7 separate regions of the Homo sapiens genome follow, and all the other regions are linked to region 1. Evidence: promoter capture Hi-C in human tissues and cell types (Jung and others, 2019). All regions are on one chromosome and are shown on one strand. Each heading gives the region's core, a stretch centred on a gene start or on the middle of the fragment in contact. The rest is flanking DNA. Distances are from core to core; before and after follow the strand shown. Region 1 holds the start of NKX3-2 (NK3 homeobox 2). Region 2 has its middle 410 kb from the start of RAB28. Region 3 has its middle 380 kb from the start of RAB28. Region 4 has its middle 360 kb from the start of RAB28. Region 5 has its middle 300 kb from the start of RAB28. Region 6 has its middle 280 kb from the start of RAB28. Region 7 has its middle 240 kb from the start of RAB28.

Evidence for each region. The method cuts DNA at HindIII sites, captures the fragments that hold promoters and counts their contacts. A contact is called where the count stands out against the background at its distance.
Region 2: a fragment that was not itself captured here is called in contact with the fragment with the promoter of NKX3-2 in region 1 in 2 of the 25 tissues and cell types used here (H1 embryonic stem cells and lymphoblastoid cells).
Region 3: a contact is called between a fragment that was not itself captured here and the fragment with the promoter of NKX3-2 in region 1, in 1 of the 25 tissues and cell types used here (H1 embryonic stem cells).
Region 4: a fragment that was not itself captured here is called in contact with the fragment with the promoter of NKX3-2 in region 1 in 1 of the 25 tissues and cell types used here (lymphoblastoid cells).
Region 5: a contact is called between a fragment that was not itself captured here and the fragment with the promoter of NKX3-2 in region 1, in 1 of the 25 tissues and cell types used here (H1 embryonic stem cells).
Region 6: a fragment that was not itself captured here is called in contact with the fragment with the promoter of NKX3-2 in region 1 in 3 of the 25 tissues and cell types used here (H1 embryonic stem cells, lymphoblastoid cells and mesendoderm cells).
Region 7: a fragment that was not itself captured here is called in contact with the fragment with the promoter of NKX3-2 in region 1 in 4 of the 25 tissues and cell types used here (H1 embryonic stem cells, aorta, heart right ventricle and 1 more).

Annotation. Positions count from the first base shown.
Region 1 is chr4:13,543,189-13,545,825 of GRCh38, forward strand. NKX3-2 (NK3 homeobox 2) reads right to left here and starts at 1,320. Exons shown (of 2, transcript NM_001189.4): 1 at 761-1,320. The coding sequence starts at 1,226. The HindIII fragment of the contact is 14,287 bases long and covers 1-2,637 here.
Region 2 is chr4:13,071,129-13,073,765 of GRCh38, forward strand. No RefSeq gene overlaps it. Among named protein-coding and RNA genes, the nearest start is that of RAB28, 410 kb to the right of the region's middle. The HindIII fragment of the contact is 7,483 bases long and covers 1-2,637 here.
Region 3 is chr4:13,102,431-13,105,067 of GRCh38, forward strand. No RefSeq gene overlaps it. Among named protein-coding and RNA genes, the nearest start is that of RAB28, 380 kb to the right of the region's middle. The HindIII fragment of the contact is 3,623 bases long and covers 1-2,637 here.
Region 4 is chr4:13,125,293-13,127,929 of GRCh38, forward strand. No RefSeq gene overlaps it. Among named protein-coding and RNA genes, the nearest start is that of RAB28, 360 kb to the right of the region's middle. The HindIII fragment of the contact is 3,040 bases long and covers 1-2,637 here.
Region 5 is chr4:13,178,163-13,180,799 of GRCh38, forward strand. No RefSeq gene overlaps it. Among named protein-coding and RNA genes, the nearest start is that of RAB28, 300 kb to the right of the region's middle. The HindIII fragment of the contact is 3,956 bases long and covers 1-2,637 here.
Region 6 is chr4:13,199,279-13,201,915 of GRCh38, forward strand. No RefSeq gene overlaps it. Among named protein-coding and RNA genes, the nearest start is that of RAB28, 280 kb to the right of the region's middle. The HindIII fragment of the contact is 7,958 bases long and covers 1-2,637 here.
Region 7 is chr4:13,247,739-13,250,375 of GRCh38, forward strand. No RefSeq gene overlaps it. Among named protein-coding and RNA genes, the nearest start is that of RAB28, 240 kb to the right of the region's middle. The HindIII fragment of the contact is 9,084 bases long and covers 1-2,637 here.

The DNA of each region.
Region 1 (2,637 bases), core at 70-2,569:
GTACCCGCCCTTCCGAAGAACTCCAGCAGAAAGGTCCAGCGGTCCCCTGTGCTTGAGGCCTACAGAAGCTTGTACCCAACTAGGGCAGGCACCCGGGTCTTCCAGACCACAGGACAGGACAGGCCACGGCTGAGGAGGCCTCTCTCCTGCCTCCAGGATGAACTAAAGACCCAATCCGGGATCTTCGGCCTAGGGCTGCTCTCCCAGACCTGGGGTCTGAGAAAGCCAAACCAGCCCTTTCCCCAAAGCTCTAGTTCTGCAGATTCTCAGCTCTGGCCCACTCGGAGGTGTTCTTCACCACCTATCCACCTACTGTGGGGCCCGGCCCTGGGACCTTGAACTGGCAGGTCTCTGGTCCAGAGCTAGGTCACTGGCTACCTGAGGTCTCTGAACCCCTCACTTTTCCGCTTCCCTGATTTTGGGGATTTGGGGACAGACACGGCAGAAAGCACTGGCGACGAACTCAAAAACTCCCGAACGCAAGGGGCAGCGGTTCTCCCAACCCAGTCTAATGCACATTGGCCCAGGATGTCTCAGGCCTCACCCCAGGACGTAGGGCTCTGAGGAGCTACTCCGGTCTCTCGCGGGCTCAGTTCCCGAAGTGATAGAGCAGCTCGCGCCAGAGCGCAGAACTTCGGGATTTGGCCAGCCTCCGAGCCCCAGGGCGCAGGGTGCTCAAGCCGACCACCCCACTCGGCGTGGTTGCCCTCCGCGTCCATCCCCTCAGCCCGGCCCCCATCCCCGCGAAGCCGCAGCAGACCTGAGACGCTGGCGGACATCTCGCTGTCGCTCCGGCCCGCGGCTTCCTCCTCTAGGTCTTTGGAAGCGGCCAGCTCACAGACCGGCTGGCCGAGGCTCAAGGATCCCCCCGCAAGGCCGGCCCCGCTGGCCCCCCGCGCGTCCGCGCAGCGCCGCCTGCTCTCGTTCTCCTCGCTGAGCGCGGAGTCCGAGTCCCAGCCTTCCGGGCTCTCCGCAGTCCGCCCCGCAGCTGTTCTGGTACCGGCAGGAGACGCCAGCAGAGAGTCCTCGGCGCCCCCCAACGCGCCCGCGTCCCTCTCCCCAAAGAGCCGCCAACAGCAGACAGCGGGAGCCGCGGCCACCGATGCCGCTGTGCCCCCGGGCGCCGGGCGCCCCTCTGGCGCGGCCAGCCCGCCGCGCTCCTCTTTCTTGTTGAGGATCGCCTGGATGGAGAAGGACGTCAAGGTGTTGGCGCCGCGCACAGCCATCTGCGCCGCGGGCAGGAGCGGCCGGCGGGGCGGGCAGCTGGGGCGCCGAGCAGCTCCGAGCGGGACAGAGAGCGCCGGCGGCCGCAGCGCGAGTGAGCTGGGTGTGCGAGGCCGCCGCCGCCCACTGCTGCGCGGCCCAGCAGCTCCCGCCCCACTCCGTCCCAGGATCAGCGCCGACCCTCGCCCCCACCTTAGAGGCCCACCCCGCCCGGAGACCCCCTCCCCCCGAATCCAGAGCCAGACGCTCTCCTTTCGCAGCTCAGCTGGATTATCTCATCGCTTCTCGCCCTTAGGGGCGGGCTGGGGTCTGCCCCCTCGGGGGACGTGAAGGAGGATTGGCGGGGGCCCCTCCGTGGCAGCAGTCCCCTCCCGAGCGCCGCCGGGGCGCACAGCCCGAGTCACTTTTTCTTTGCGCGTCTGTCCCTTCCTCGCCTGCAGGATTTCGCTCCTGGCCCGTCCTCCCCTTCCCTGCTGGGCAGGCTCTTCCGGAGCCCACCCCCGGCGGCGGCGGCGGTAGCCGCGGCCGCGGCCGCTGGATTCCGAGAGGCGCGGGGAACTTTTTTACCCCCTGCCCTGGTTTTATCTGTTTCTTTTCTCTTTCCTTCCCTTGCGTTCCACTGTACCACCCCCCTCCCGCCCGGGTGTCATTCCTCACTGCTGAGTGACAGCCTGAGGCCACACCCCTCCACTGGGCTGTCCCGGGCGCTCCCGGCCGTCCATTGGCTGGCTCCAGTTGGGCGACGTTGACTTTAACAGACAAAACTGGGCACGTTGCGCCGCTAAAGACAGGGTCTGACTTAACCCCTTCTCTCCTAAGCCTGGTCCTCGAAGCACCCTCCAGCAACAAGGAGGCTCATCCGACCCAAACCACGTTTCTTACCTCTGCAGATGTATCCACTTATTCCAGCGCTTTAACAGAACACTGATACTAAGTTGAGTCAAATCTGCGGAGAAAATCCAAGATAATGCAGTTCCATAAATCATGCTCGTAGTTTCTGTTCTCTAGGAAGGATTATAAACACGAAGAACAAAATGCATCCTTTTTTTTCTCCCTACAGTTTCGCCGCTTCTTCATTGCTAATGCTCTTTGCTGAAATGATCAGTTAATTAAGATCACTCTAGAAATATTTTTCTTTCCTCGTCGTCTTTGATTTGATTCGATTTTTATAGAGGAATTATAAAAAAATGGTATAGTTAGAACTAAAGTCAGGAGAAGAATTGAAAGGCATCTTTGGGAGAATTTCTGTAAATTTTATGGTCGTTTCCCTGGCAGACCAATATTGAATTTAATTGGAGTTTGTTAAGTTTTGCATCAGGAAGAAAAAAAAAACTTTCAATTTGTTTTTTTTAAATATCTCTTACTTGTGAGTTGAATAAAATTATAAATAGATATGTTTGTTTGCTTAGAAGT
Region 2 (2,637 bases), core at 67-2,566, 470 kb before region 1:
TTGTTGTAGCTTTTCATTTGTTGTCTTCAATAATTTCTTACATTGTACAGTGTGTCTGGTACAGAGGAGAATTTATTACTTGCTCTGCCACTGACTCTGTGATTCTACATTTTTCTCACTACCTCAACAAATTGTGAATACCTGAAGATCTGGAATCCCCGGCCAGGAATGCCTTGGTATTCCCCATGGGGAACTGCAGTGCTTGGGAGGCAGTCAATGAATATTTGTTGGAAGGGTAAACAACAAATACTAAGGTTCTAGGGAATTTTTTTTCACTCTATTGTAAAAATGAAGCAGAAGAAAAGCATTTATTGTACTCATTTGGAGCAGTGATTTCTACTCTAGAGAAATCAGCAAGCCTCTATTACTCTAGGCTTATGGCCAGGTCTTTAAAATATTATTGTTATAGTAATATTTTTCCAACCATATTTGCTGTAATAGGATTTCACCTTAATTTGTTCTCTTGCCACAATGCAAATCAACAAACTATAGGACTAGAAGAAAATCAATCAAAAACGAACTCAGGAAATTGAGACCATCTACTCTAAAACTGCATTCCTTGGAGATATTTAAAAGACACTACATGTACACATGCACGCATGCACACACACACGCACACGTGCACAAGGAACAAGGATAGAGGATATGGGAGAAACCTGTAAACATACTTCTTGTTCCCCTCAGTGATTCACGATGGACCTTAACATATGAAAGACTTTGAGCAGCCCTAAAGTAAAGAAACTGATCAGTTTTGAATCACTCAGCATTCCTCGACTTATTGGAGCAAAGCCTTGATGAACCCAGAGATGAATCAAGTTGTGCAGACTGAACATCAGAAACTCTGATCTTGTATATTCCCCTCATTCGAGTGATAAGGAAGCTGGAGGTAATGTGGAATCGTGTAACACGCACAGAGTTTGAAATTTTTTTTTTTTTTTTTTTTTTTTTTTGAGACAGAGTCTTGCTCTGTCTCCCAGGCTAGAGAGCAGTGGCGCCATCTCGGCTCACTGCAAGCTCCGCCTCCAGGGTTCACGCCATTCTCCTGCCTCAGCCTCCCAAGTAGCTGGGACTACAGGCGCTTGCCATCACGCCCGGCTAATTTTTGTATTTTTAGTAGAGACGGGGTTTCACCGTGTTAGCCAGGATGGTCTCGATTTCCTGACCTCGTGATCCGCCCACCTTGGCCCCCCAAAGTGCTGGGATTACAGGAGTGAGCCACTGCGCCCAGCCCAGAGTTTAAAATTAACATGACCTGGTGCTGGCTTTCTTCTCTACCACCTAGGAGTTTGAGGCAAACAAGTAAGTTTACCTCTTGGAGCCGTGTCTCTTCCAACAAAACTTCTTTTAGCACTTGCTATGTGCCAGGCATTGTTATAGTCACTTGGGATATATGAGGGGACAAAAAAAAGACCTGAATCCCTGCTGTAAGATGCATAAAAATACCGACATCTCATAGCTATCATAAGGCTGAAATGGGGGATAGTTTTCAAGCATCTATCATGTTGTCAGTCTTAATAATTTTAAACAAACAAACAAAAAGCTATCAAATTTTTAAAGGAGGTAATGAGCTCATTCTACCAGAAGAAATCGGGTGCTACTGGTGTCTCCCGACTTCCCACATGCCACAGAATCTTCCTGGTTTATTATCCTATCGTCCAGATTTTTCCTACCAAAAGCTACAAATCACTGTACCAGTACTCAGTTATTTAAAAAAAGAATATGATAAATTTATTAATGAGCCAAGAAGAAACTATATTGCTGGAGAAACTTGAAGAATGGACTTCAAAAAGGAAGAATATAAATAGAGGTGTGGGGAGACAGAGGAAGGAATTTGGAAAAGCAAATGTGATTTAAGAAAGAAATATCAGATAATGATTGGATTATCCTCATAATCCAATTTCCAGATTAGATTTTTTTCCTGAACTCCAATCCTGAATGTTCAACTAACTCCTAAAAACCTCTACCTAGGCCAGACGTGGTGGTTCACTCTTGTAATCCCAGCACTTTCAGAGGCCGAGGCAGGCAGATCACTTGAGGTCAAAAGTTCAATGTCAGTCGCCAACATGGTGAAACCCCATCTCTACTAAAAATACAAAAATTAACTGGGCATGGCGGCACGTGTCTGTACTGCCAGCTATTCTAAAGGCCGAGGCAGGAGAATCACTTGAACCCAGAAGGTAGAGGTTGCAGTGAGCCAAGATCTTGCCATTGCACTGCAGCCTCGGTGACAGAGCAAGACTTCATCTCAAAGAAGAAAAGGAAAGAAAAAGAAAAAATCCTACCTGAGGCTCCTCAAGAACCCAACTATGACTTCATGCCTTCCAAAACCAAACATCCCACTCAATTTTTGAAACCAGTTCTTCCTCCTATGTTACTGAGTTAATGAACTATACCACAATGAAACCATCTACACCAGCAAATTCAGAGTCATATTTGCATTCTTCCTTTTTGTCCTCTCACTTGCAGGAGTAATAAGAAGACAAAGAAGAATTAAAATCTGTGACTTGTGAGCCATTTTGGGAAACAGTTTGGCATTTCCTTAAAACATTAAACATAGAATTAACATATGACCTAGCAATTCTACTCCTTAGTAATCACCTAAGAGAAATAAAAACGTATATCCACACAAAAACCTGT
Region 3 (2,637 bases), core at 50-2,549, 440 kb before region 1:
TATGTGTGAGGAAACCTGATGGCAAGGACTCAAGTCTCCAAGTGACAACCCCCAACTCCATGGGGGGATGAGTCATGCTTACTGAGCTCAGAAGCTGAACAGACTCCAACCCTGTGGGCAGCCCCTCTGTCTTAATTAAAGTCTCCTATGCCCCCACATCAATGGAGTGTGGGCGCCACTCTATAGAGGCAACCAGAGTGAGTGCGTGCTGGGCAAATGGCAGCTCGATTACACAAATCCCTGTGCTTGCAATGTGGTCCTGACCCAGGTTCTGAACTTGCACCTCCTGCTGCTGGCACCTGTTCGTGCTCCTCTCAGGTCTCCCTCTTGCTCCCTACTTCAGGCTGAGCCAAAGAATTAAGCCTCTCCTAAGACAGGCTTGGCCATAAGGCAGCCCGGACATGAAGTCACATTCTACAGACTCCCAGTGGCACCGCTAGTGTGAGAGTTTCTTCGTGAAGGAAATTTCGATGATAAGTTAATTCTATTGACAGACGGCCAGGAAATTGGTCAGGCCTACTATGGTCTTTAGATTCACTCTACTGGTGGCACTGCCTACATTTCCTCATAAATCAGAGGGTCTCAGAGTCCAAAGGAAACTTGGAAGAAGTGATGCTTTATGTTTGGAAAATTGAAGCACAGAGAGGTTGTATGACTTGCCTAAGTCACATAGCTAGTAACTGCGGAAGTCTAAATTCAAATTCAGGTACATCTGATTCCAACATAGGCTCTTTCTAATACACCAGAGTCTCAAAATCTTGCCCCTTTAAAGATGTTTCAGGAATTCCAGAAACAATAGTGTTTTCCACCAAATAATAAAAAATGTTTTAAAATCAGTCATAAATAGTTCATCTCCTTTATCTATTTTTAATTGGAATTTATCAGGTTTCTATTCAAAGAAGTTTAAACAATATTACACTGACATGTGCTCAATGAAAATGAAATGATCCATGTTTTTGGAGTTAGTTGGCTGACTTAGAATTGGCCAACAGTACAACAGAATATAAAAAGAGCCTTGTTGGTTAAAGCATATGAACTGGGAATGCGCCGCACTCAGAAGTGGAGAGGGCCATGTGCTGCTAGATGCTGCCCTCAGGTTGGAGAAGAATTAACTCTGAGATCCCGCAGCCTTTGTGGAAGAGCGCCCCCTCCACCAAGGGTACACCTCCTCCCCATGGACAGCTCTCTTCCAGCGTCTCATCACTGGGTTCTGCCAGGGTACAGTGGCCTTAAGGGAACAACTCATCTCAGCCTCCCAGCTCCAGAGCCCCTGTGAGACGAGCTGAGAACTTTTTTGCAACTGCATTTCAGCCTAATTTTCCCTTCTGCTCAATTCTTCCTCCCCTACCCCCTCACACTCCCCAGGGAAGCACCTGCATGCGAACCACAGAGTCTCAGTGTCTACTTCCTGCAGAATCTGACCTAAGTCAGGTGGGTGAAACTGTGCCACTTAGAACTGTAAGATCTGTTATTACTATTTTTAAACAGAAAATATTAAATCCAATATGCAGTGATTTAGAAAAGTAAAATATGTAGTCAAGCAGATTACTTAATAAATATATATATATATTTATTATATATAAAAAGATGTTTATTTTTCTTTAAATTATAGGTCATATCCTTCAACTATGTGTATATTCTAGTTTTTTAAACTGAAAAAGATATTTTTAATAGAACTAAGCTTCATTAACTGGATTATGTCTTCTACGATCAGTAATCACACCTGATAAAACATTGTTTTTTGGTCCCCTATTAGCCAAGCTACTCCCAGTCACCATGTGGTACCTACAAGGTGCTGAGAGTGAGATAAACTCTATTTCAGTGTGACTAGCCCTCATCACTGGTAAAGATTCAACACTCGAAAAGGAAAAGGGACAGATAAGGTGATGGTACTTCCATTTCCTATGAAGACAAAAGACATATCTGAGGCAAATATGGCAATATCTAAAAAAATTGAGTAGTATCAGATGACAGATTTCGGCCTTCTCTGTGTTTGAGATATCTTATTACCAAAATGATTAATTTTTAATAGTATTTATTCACTTCCAGGCTGGATATCAGCATATGATTAGTAACCATGAAACAAATAATACCTGATTGTTATTCTGCCATTGACATGATGTCCATCACTCAGGTCACTTGCCACCACCTCTTTGTCATCCCTGTGTTTTGTAGATTACAAAAAATATGGACTCACAAGCTGGTTCTATATAAGTGCCCCTGTGAAAAACACTGCTCTTTATTTCCTAAGATCTCGTCGTTTTTTCTTCCTTATAAATACAAAATCTGAGAGTTACTCAGTGCATTGCTGACATAGATGCATTTTCCACCAGTTCTTGCAAGTAATTATGACCATGTGACCAACTATTAACCAATGAATAAAAGTATCCCCAATATGGGCAGCTTCTTGGAAGTGTCCCCAACATGAAGAGGTAGCCCTTTCTTTTTCCCTTTTTCTTTACTGTTGTCTGGAATAAAGAAATAGTGCCTGGAGCTGTTCTTGTCATCATGGACAGTAAGGTGGCATTCTAAGCATGAAGAGGTAAGACAGGAGGATCCTGGTGCCAGATAATTATGGCACCATGCATCCTGGACCAGACACTTTGTTTACCTAAATAAGAAAGTCTGGTCTATTGC
Region 4 (2,637 bases), core at 94-2,593, 420 kb before region 1:
AAGTCCTAGGATGGACTGCTTTTCACGCCAACACCACGGACACACACGGAGAAAGGCACACGCAAACACCTGAGCACATGGACACACACACATAAACACACCACCCATGAACACCCACTGTGCTGACTTGGCATTGGATCCAAATTTGACAAACCAATGCCTGAAGGCACATAGCCGAGCCTAAACTGTTGCAGGTTCCTTTTCCCATAAAAATAATAATAACGAATGAAAATATTTGGAACATGGCCAGAGCCTAATGCAACACAATTTCTAAATTCAGTATCCTCCTTCCCCCACACACATACTCCCCATTTGCGCCACCACCTCCTTCTTGCCTTTCTATGCAGGCTGCTTATCCTACCTCGAATAAAAAGTCATTTAATAGCTGCTTCAATCTCAGTGTCTAATGCATTAGGTTTCCTCCCTAAACTTCACAGATAGAGGTCCACTCTGCAGAAGGCAAAAGAACTTCAGACTGGAATCAAGCAGCCATTAACATGCTGTGTGATGTTAGAAGCGTTAACTCCCCTGTCTGTGCTACATGAGTAAATTTCCACATGAGTGAACAAGAGGGTTGGCTGTGATGATTCCTTTCCCTTCTAATTTTTTAGATAATGGTTTAGAGCATGGGCTCTGGAGCCAGGCTGTTCAAATCCCAACCATTTACTTACTAGAGTGTGATCTTAGGTTTGTCAGTGCACCCTTATGTGCTTTAGTGTATTGGTTTATTTCTTTGTTAAATAACAACAACAATAATGAGGAAGACTTTGAGGATGATGATAGACACTGCCTCGTAGGGTTGTAGTGAAGACTAAATGATATGTTATATACAAAGTGCTTAGAAGAGGGCCTGCTCCATGTAAGCCTCACGTAAAGCTTACTTGCTGTTACATTATAAAAATTAAGAAATGATTTGTGGAGGTCATACTATTAACTCTTTCTGTCTTATTTCTGTATTTAAAAATAAAAGAGTGATTTCAAAAAAAAACAACTTTAACACATACTTCTGGTCACATGAGGGGACAGTTGTTCTGCCTAATTGCTAAAACCCATGACTCTTGGACCTTGCAAATCAATTAGGCCTTGTTGAGCATTGCTGGTGCTGCTTGGGAAGGCTGAGGACAAGAGAGGGAGGAAAGCCCAAAGTTAGGAATAAAGTGCGCTGGCAAACCGAGGGGAACTCACACGGAGCCTTCGCCACACAGTCTTTGGCAGCAGGCAAGCCTCTTCATCTCTCAATTTCATGGTCACCAAAAATCACACATAAAAAGCCCAGTGACTAAACGAATATGGAAACTGAATGGCTCAAAAAACCCCGAGATGTGGTCAGTCTGGGTCACCTTCAAGTCATGCTGTGGCATCTCAGGGTGATGGAAGGTCAGTCCCTGCGACCTTCACTGGGGAATATAAAGGAAAGAAAATAATATTTCAATCTCCTGAGCTATTGATGCAGAAAACTTCACAAGAGCTAAATCCAGGTCAGAAAAACAAACATCGTTCAAATTATTCAATCTTCCAATATCCTGGTTCATAAGCAGATTTCCTCCTAAATGAGTCATTGGAAACTGCTCTTTCAAAAGCAGGTATTTCTTTGCCTTTTATAAAAGTTTGAATACACTGCTTAGCAAGAATAACAAGGAAAAAATAATGTAAACTGAGGCAGGAGGATGGGAGAACAGAATTATTATCTCTGATCTGTGCATTCAACTGAAACCCAGACAGCATGCTCTATCTCTATTAATTTCCCACCCTAACAAAGCTCTGTACTAGAAGCCTGAAAGTCTAGGATCTTAGCCTCGGAATATTTGCTGAAGAGCTGTGTGACCCTGAGAAATCAGTTGACCTCTCTGTGCCTGTGTCATCGTGTATTCAGTGAAAACATCAGCTCCACTTCAGCTCATGTGTTCTATGGTTTGAGGCATCTACCAGACCTGGCTGTTCCGCTTCTCAATCACATAACCTTGACCAAGTCATTTCCCTAAGCTGGTTTTCAGTTTCATTGTCTGCAAAATAGGGATAATTATTATTATCTATTTCACAGGGTTAATATGAGGCTAAAATAAAATAATGTGTATGGACAGGCTCCACAAACAACAACACATATACAAATATAATGGATTCTCATCATGATAACTAATATTTAATGAAGGCTTACTATGAGCCTGGCACTGTTCTAAATTTACCTAAACAAACAGTGCTTTGTCCTACGAGCGAAGTGTAATCATTGCTTCCACTTCATAGATAAGAAATGGAGCTGACTTGGCACAAGTCCTCCAGAAAGCAGAACCTGAAACAAGGGCTTCCTTGGAGGCAGTTTATTTGGATAAGTGATCACAAGAAATGTGCCTGGCTAGTGGGGCTGTAAGGAGAGCAACAGAGATAAAAGCACCTGGGTAGACTCTGCTAGGTCCCCTCTGAGCAGCTGTGTAGAAAGCACCTCAGAGTTGTGACCCAAGGGACAGAAGAGGGGGCTGTTATCCACCAACTTTCACCCTCCATCGGTGGAGAGTTTCCCTGTGAGATGCTAGAAATTAATCCCCTTGCACATCCAGGTTTGCACGTGCCCTCATCAGAATGTCTGAGTGGTGCCCTCCAGGTACCTCAGGCAGCAGGCAGAGAAGCTGCAGCTTAATTAAG
Region 5 (2,637 bases), core at 75-2,574, 370 kb before region 1:
GCCTCTATCTCCATTGCCAAGACAGCAGTACTCCTCTACTTACAGCAAAACTGGGAGCATAGTATGTAATAAGAGGCACCTGTCAGGAGATAAATAAAAGGGAATGGTGGGGATTTGGATGACCTGGAGAACACTTTTCTCATTTCAACTTAGCAGACACCATTCAGTTCCAGCCAATTCATACCAAAAGGGAAATGAATTTAAAGCCTCAGGACACATTTTTTATGTAAAATCTCTTGATTTCTAGATGTTAGTTTAAATCTAAGAACAATGTGGGTCAGTGTATGATTGCTGCCTTAGACATATCAGATTAGGGTGTGGATATAAGTTAACATTTCCTAAGATTTATATTATGACATACAAATTTCTTAGGTGCTTTAGGCTTCATGGTCCAATAAGTTTAGAAAATCGATCTAAGTAATGTGAAACAAATATCTTAATCTTTACTCTTTACTAATATGCAGTGTAAATTTCTGAGAGGGAAATCTAGGAAGCAAGTTTTTTTAAATGTCTATAACCATGAACGTCCTTTTTTTCAAGGACCATCTCAAGGGGCTACTGAGCCACAGAACAAGCTTAGGGAATGCTGGCTCAGGGAAAAGGGATCTCACCAACTGCCCAAGCTGCTCAAATTGCTGGCCTCAGGCCAGGGGCACAAAAGAAGCCTTTGTGGTCCACATAAGACCCAGTCCAGTGCCTCAGGAGGCTACACTGAGGTTTGGAGACAAAGCCCTTTCTAGTAATGAAGTGCTCAGTAGCTGGGTCTTGAACATCTGTCTCCTTTTGGGGCCTCACAGTATGACTCTGGTAGGTCTTTCATTCTTATTACAACAAATATTAAGTGTAGGGGAAAACAGAGATGCAAAGACACACCTCTTTTTGCAAAACTTCAAGTTCTGCAGGAAGGCAGAGGTGCAGACAGAAGGATGCAGAAAGTAAGATCATTGCTGTATTAGGATTCTCTAGAGAGACAGAACTAATAGGATATATATATATATATATATATATGGAAGTGTATTAAGTATTAACTTACATGATCACAAGGTCCCACAATAGGCTGTCTGCAAGCTTGAGGAGCAAGGCGAACCAGTCCGAGTCTCACCACTGAAGAACTTGGAGTCCAATGTTCGAGGGCAGGAAGCATCCAGCATGGGAGAAAGATGTAGGCTGGGAGGCTAGGCCTTTTCATATTTTTTCTGCGTGCTTTATATTTGCTGGCAGCTGATTAAATGGTGCTCATCAGATTAAGGGTGGGTCTGCCCTCCCCAGCCCACTGACTCAAATGTTTATCTCCTTTGGCAACACCCTCACAGAGACACCCAGGATCAATACTTTGCATCCTTTAATCCAATCAAGTTGACGCTCACAAAGTGACACAGGCATGAAGGAGAAGAGGCACCAAGCTTTGAGAATCAAGAAAGGCTTCAAGAGTTTGCCAGCTGGTCAATGACGTGAGGGCATTCCAAGCGGAGAATGCCATTGGTCAGTGGTTCTCAACCAACAGCAGCCTTGCTCCCCCAGGTGATACCTATTTGGCAAGGTCTGAATACATTTTTCATGGTTACAACAGAGAAGAATAGACTTGCTACTGGTGCCTAGTGAGTAAAGGCCACGGATGCTGCTAAGTGTCCTACAATGCACAGAACAGTCCCAAGACAAAAAATTTATCTTTCCCAAACATCAGTAGTTTCAAGGCTGAGAAATCCTTCCATAGGAAAGGCACAGAGGTGTGAAGGCACAGGTTAGCTTAGGCATCAGCAGGTGTCTGATGCAGCTTATTAAGGCTATTAGAGGCCCATTTCCCTTTTCCGTCATTTCCAGAGCATAAGCCCCTCAAATTCACTGACATCCTGTATTGGTATGTATGCTCCCAGAGCCTAGTCTATGGTAAGTGCAAAGTAAATGAATAAAACAGGTTTCCCAAGAGTCAGTAGTGGTAAGAGTGCTGCTGAGAGCACAGGTGTCCTAAGTTCCCGTGGCAGCCAGAACAAATTACCATAACTTAGTGGCTGAAAACAACAGGAACTTATTCCCTCACAGTTCTGAAAGCAGGTGTCTGAAATGGAGATGCTGGCAGGATTGGTTCCTTCTGGAGATCCTGAGAGATTCTTCCTTGTCTCTTCTTGCTTCTGGGGCTATCAGGTGTTCCTTAGCTTGTGGAAGCACAAATCCAGTCCATGCTTCCATCTTCTCATGGATCTTCACTTTGCCTTCTCCTCTGTATCTATGCCTTCTCCTCTTCTGTCTCTTATAAAGACACGTCTCTGGATTTATAGTCTACTCAGTTAATCCAGAATAATCATATCTTGAGATCCTTAATTACATCTGCAAAGACACTTTTTTCAAACAAGGTCATATTTGCAGGTACTGGGGGCTAAGATTTGAACATAGCTTTTTGGGGTGCCACTGCCTTAAGTACTACAACAGATATGCCTGGATGGTAGAAAAAAGGGAATTGTCTATAGGAGGGAAAGAGTGACTCCTCCACCTGGGTCATGATTACTCCAAGAGTTGGCCATGGTGATTCCATTTCTGACTCTCACTTCAATAAAAAAGTCAGTAAGATAAATGTTGGGCACATTCATTTTGAAGCACAAATTACATGTGTACTTCAGAATACATGTGTGCAAAATATTT
Region 6 (2,637 bases), core at 99-2,598, 340 kb before region 1:
GTCTACCCTGCAGAACCCATGGGTATGAGCAGTCAACCTTCTGTTGTATCTTCACATCCCTCAAATACCATATTTTCTATTCGGATTTGGTTGAAGCTGCTGATACAAAGGGCTGACTGTACTTTCACACCTTGACTTTGGACTTAGACTTGTGACTTTCTATTGATAAACAGGATGTTAGCAGATGTGACACAAGCAGGGGCTTAAAAATGTGCTTAAGGGCTGGGCGTGGTGGCTCACGCCTGTAATCCCAGCACTTTGGGAGGCCAAGGTGGGTGGATCACGAGATCAGGAGATCGAGACCATCCTGGCTAACACATAAAAAACACTAAAAATTACAAAAAATTAGCTGGGTGTGGTGGCGGGCATCTGTAGTCCCAGCTACTTGGGAGGCTGAGGCAGGAGAATGGCGTGAACCCAGGAGGTGGAGCTTACAGTGAGCAGAGATCGTGCCACTGCACTCTAGCCTGGGGGACAGAGCGAGACTCTGTCTCAAAAAAAAAAAATGTGCTTAAGCAATATGTGCTTTCACATGCTTTTAACATCACAATGAAAAAAAAATACAATGTGGCTGTCCTACTGATCCAAGGAGGTTGAAAGATACATGCAACAGACCTTACCTCAACCTGTAGCTTATCTGCAAGTAGCCAAACCAATCTAGCTCAGCCAACCTTCAGTCGACCTGCAGACATGCAAGTTAAATAAATGCTGATTTTTGTATGAGAGTTTATGTTGCTAGTTATGTAGCAATAGTTGACGATACACTGAAATAATAAGATAATAATTACTTCCCATTAGAGCTACATGAAGAGCTGAAGAGTATGCGAAAGGTGAATTCAGAAACTAACCATAAAACTGGGTAGGCAGATCACAGAGTCTAGTAGGTAGAAGCAATGATTCCAAACCTCCTTTTCAGAAAACTATGGTCTCCTTAGGATCACAGGAGAAATGGAGAGATAAAGTAATCTCAAGTCATATACATAGAGCCTTATTTGCTACAGGGCTCTACCTAGAGAAGGGAAAAGTCTGTTCTGTACACACAGATTCTCAACACTTGCAGTTTGCACAAAAGCTTATTAATTTCCAGTACCCTCCCTTGCCTCTGTACTATTTTAAAACAGTTTATACCATATTGATTTAAAAAGGATGTATGGAGTAGCTAAAACCCCAAGTCAGTATATTTAAATCCAAAACCAATGTGGTTCCAAAGGAACTGCTGCAGAGGTGAAGAGGGCCTCAGCTGGCTTTACCCCACAGATCTCCATCCTAGAGTCAACCAGAACAACTCCAGTCTTTATTGTTTTATACTCTGGGATTCCACATAACATTTCATTAGAACAGGAGTGACTGCCAGGCTTTCCAGCCCTGCCACAAACATGACAGCTGTAGTCTCTAAAACATAGGACTAAAACTAAACTCATCGTTTTGCCCCTCCCAAACACTGCTCAACCTTCTTAATTCCCCTTTAGAGATTCTCATCACCTTTCATCCACAGATGAGTAAGCCACCAACCTGGGAGCTACCTTTATCCTCACTTTATTATTCCCATCTCATCTGTCTCCTAAATGAATGACCAATATGTGCCTCTCTCTCTACTCGGACTGTCACCATCCTTGTTCTCACTGCCATTGCTTACCTGGGAGGCTCAACAGTCTTCTAACTTTGGCATCTCTATCTCTCACTTACACTCTCAGTAATGGACAGGCTCTCAGATGGCCCCCAATGATTCCCACCTCCTGGTGACATCGCCTCTCCTTGTGTAAGCTCAACTCCTTGAGTGACTTGCTTCTAACCAATAGAGTATAGCAAATGTGATGGAGTACTGCTTCCATGAATAGGGTACACGAGATTCTGACTTTTGTCTTACTGATATACTCTCCTCCTTGCTGGTTTTGACAAAACAAACTGCAGTGTCTGAGCTGCCCTATGGAGAGGCTCACGTGGCAAGAAACTGAGAGTGGCTTTCAGCTGAAAGCCAAAAGGGAACTAAGGTCTGAAATCCAATAATCTACAAAGAATTGAATCCCAACAACCACTACACAAGCCAGGAAGTGGGTTTTCGGTTCTTCCCCACTTGAGCTTTCCCTTTGATTGCTGCCTCATGAGAAACTCTGAGGACTTAGCTAAGTCATTCCTGGATTCCTGATCCATAGAAACTGTCAGCTAATGCATGTGTGTTGTTTTAAACCACTGAAGGGTTTAAATTAATTTGTTACACAGCGACAGGTGACTCATACACCCCTCCAATGCACACGATGGCACAGTCAGAGTGATGGCTCTAAACACAAATCTGACCATCCCCTTCCTCTTACTCTAACCCTTCCTTCAATGTCACAGGAAGCAAAAAAGTGGCATTCACTGAGTGCCTACCTTGTGTTGGCCTCTTCATGTGCTATCTCATTTCATCTACACAGCAACCCAGCAAAGCCAGGATTATTAATTCTCTTCAACAGAATTTTTTTTAAACTAGAGAATTAAGTAACTTGTTCAAAACTACAGAGCTAGGAAATGACTAAGCCATAACTATGACCAAAATTACCTAGCTTCAAAACTCTTTCTGCCACACCAACCTTTCACAAAACCCAAAACACCCTATTGTAGCGTCAGGGAGATGCTAAAGTCAGGCAAACCGGGGCA
Region 7 (2,637 bases), core at 44-2,543, 300 kb before region 1:
TTCTTCTCCCTCTTCTCCATCTTCTTTCTCCTTCTACTTCTCATTCTTCTTCTTCTTCTCCTCCTCCTCCTCCCTCTCCTCCTCCTTCTTCTCCCTCTCCTCCTCCTCCTCCTTCTTCTTCTTCTTCCTCCCTCTCTCCCCCTCTCTCTCCCCATCCTCCTCTTTGAAGACTCCTATTATGTGTATATTGGTATGCTTGATGGTATGCCACAGGTCTATCCAGCTCCTTTCATTTTTTGTTGCTGTGTTCCCTTTCTGTTTCTCAGACCAGATAATTTCAATTACTTGCATTCAACTTGGTATATTCTTTCTCCCACCTGTTCAAGTGCCCCCACGGTGACTTTTTATTTCAGTTATTGCACTTTTCAACTCCATGTTTTTGGTTTGGCTGCTTTTTATCATTTTTATCTTTACTGATATTTTCAATTGGTTGAAAACTCATTCTTCAGCTCTCCTTTATTTCTTTAGACATGTTTTCCTTTAGCTCTTTGAATATACTTTAAATAGCTGATTTAAAGTCTTCATCTAGCAAGTCCAACATTTGAGCTTCCTCAAAGACAGTTTCTAGTGACTGCTTTTTCCTATGTAAGAGTCATACTTTCTCGTTTCTGTGCATATCTCATAATTTCTGTCAAAACTGAACATTTTAGGTAATATGGCAATTCTGGATTCTACCCCCTGCCCCCAACCAGGGTTTGTTGTTTTTACTGTTATTGCTGTTGTTTGTTTAGTAATTTTTTGAACTAGTGCTGTAAAATCTGCATTCTTTTACATGTATCAACACAGAAGTCTCTGCTTTGTTAACATAGTTGTCAATTGGACAGAGATGTCCTTAAGTGCCTGGAATCAATAAGCCCCCAAGTCTTTGACAAATGGCTCTACGTGCATATTGAACATGCCTTCAACATTTAGCTAGACAGTTAACTACTCTGCTTTAATTTTCAGTTTCCCCTAAGTGAAGCCTCAAAGTGAGACACTGGTGAGAGCTTAGAGCCTTCTCAAGCATTCCCTGAACGTTCATACATACCACAGCATGCACATGGCCTTCTAGATTCTCAGGAATGTGTCAAAGTTCTTCAGAGCCCTTTATGGACATCAATTTCAAGCATTTCCTGTTAAGCTATTATTTGCCCCAACTATTATTCACTACCACAGGCAGCCATAATCTAAACAAATGCTCTTAATTGTTTTCAATAAATGACCCCAAGAAAAAAGCTATTCATACTAGATGATCTCTGAATCAGTTAAATAAGACTACTTTGAGAATGGGGTCTTCCAGGGAACCACCAGGCAGGTCAAAAAAAATAACAAATTCTCCAGAAATAGGATTTTGAAAGAGTTCCAACCCTCTTTTGCCCCCTCTAGTGGCAACCAAGTCTCGAGTTTTTACTGTGGTCATAGTCTGTTGGTTTTCAAGGTTACCATGGAGCTGGAAATGAAGGGATGAGAATAGGAAAAATTAATACTGCACTGTTCATATCAGGTTTTTATACCAAAATTCAGCTGCTTTTCTTAAATGTTCCCTGAATTTTCCCCAAATCTTTTATTAATGTCTACAGTTTTTTAAAAAAGTTAATTCTGAAAATTGTTGCCCTTGTTCTTATTGCTTTTATGGAGGAGAGGACTTTCAGAGGCCTTTATTCTACCACTTTCACTGATACCCAAACCAGACTTATTTTATGTCAGTGTTTCTTTGCTCTGTTTGACCCACTTAAGCTTCTGGCTGCTCTTTATACTCTTTTTTATTCCAATTTCTTCATTGCCCACTTTCAATCAAGACTTGTTTTTCCTATCTCAAGTTTTTCAAATATTTTTTGCTTCTACTGCTGTTGGCCTTAAGTAGGGGTTTTATCATCTGTTACCCAGATAACTTCAACAGTGTCCAAACAGGTCCCTTTGCAGCATGTCTTATTCTGTTCTAATCCATTCACCACCCCAGACACATTGATCATTTTGAAACATAAAACTGACTTCATCTTTTCTTATGTAAGTCCTTCCATAGATTCACATTATCTCCAGAATAAAGCCCAATCCTGGTCATGGCAGAGTATACAAGGCCTGCTTGATTTGGCCCTAAATCTCCCCTCTGCCCTTGCAAATCTTAGCCCAGCCATACATATACGTGCAATTCCATATCAATTCTGCATAGTCTCATTAGTATTCTTGTCCCTTCTTCCCTTAGTGAATCAATCAATTAATTAATTTGGTACATATTTTCTAAGCATTTACTATGTGTCAGGCCCTATGGAAGGCACAAGATAAAAGAAAGTGAATAAGACCAACAAGGTTCTTCTTCCTGTGGATTTTATATACAGAGATGGAGACAAGTAAATAGATAAACAAACTGAATAATTACAGAATGCTGTAACTGCAATGCAGAGAGTAAATGGAATGATAGAAACAGGAGAAACTTGTTTATTAATCAGTGGGAAAAGAAAATTTCTCTCTAAAGAGGAAACATTTGAACTGAGACCTAAAGGATGAAAAGGAACCAATAAAGCAAAGACTCCCATGACAAAAGCCTGAGACCAAAATTAAAATCAAAGTGGGACAAAGGCAGAGACTAAACGAAAGGCAGATAAAAATAAAAGTAGAGAAAAGTTGTCCCAGAAACCCCCACACATTCCAATGAACACA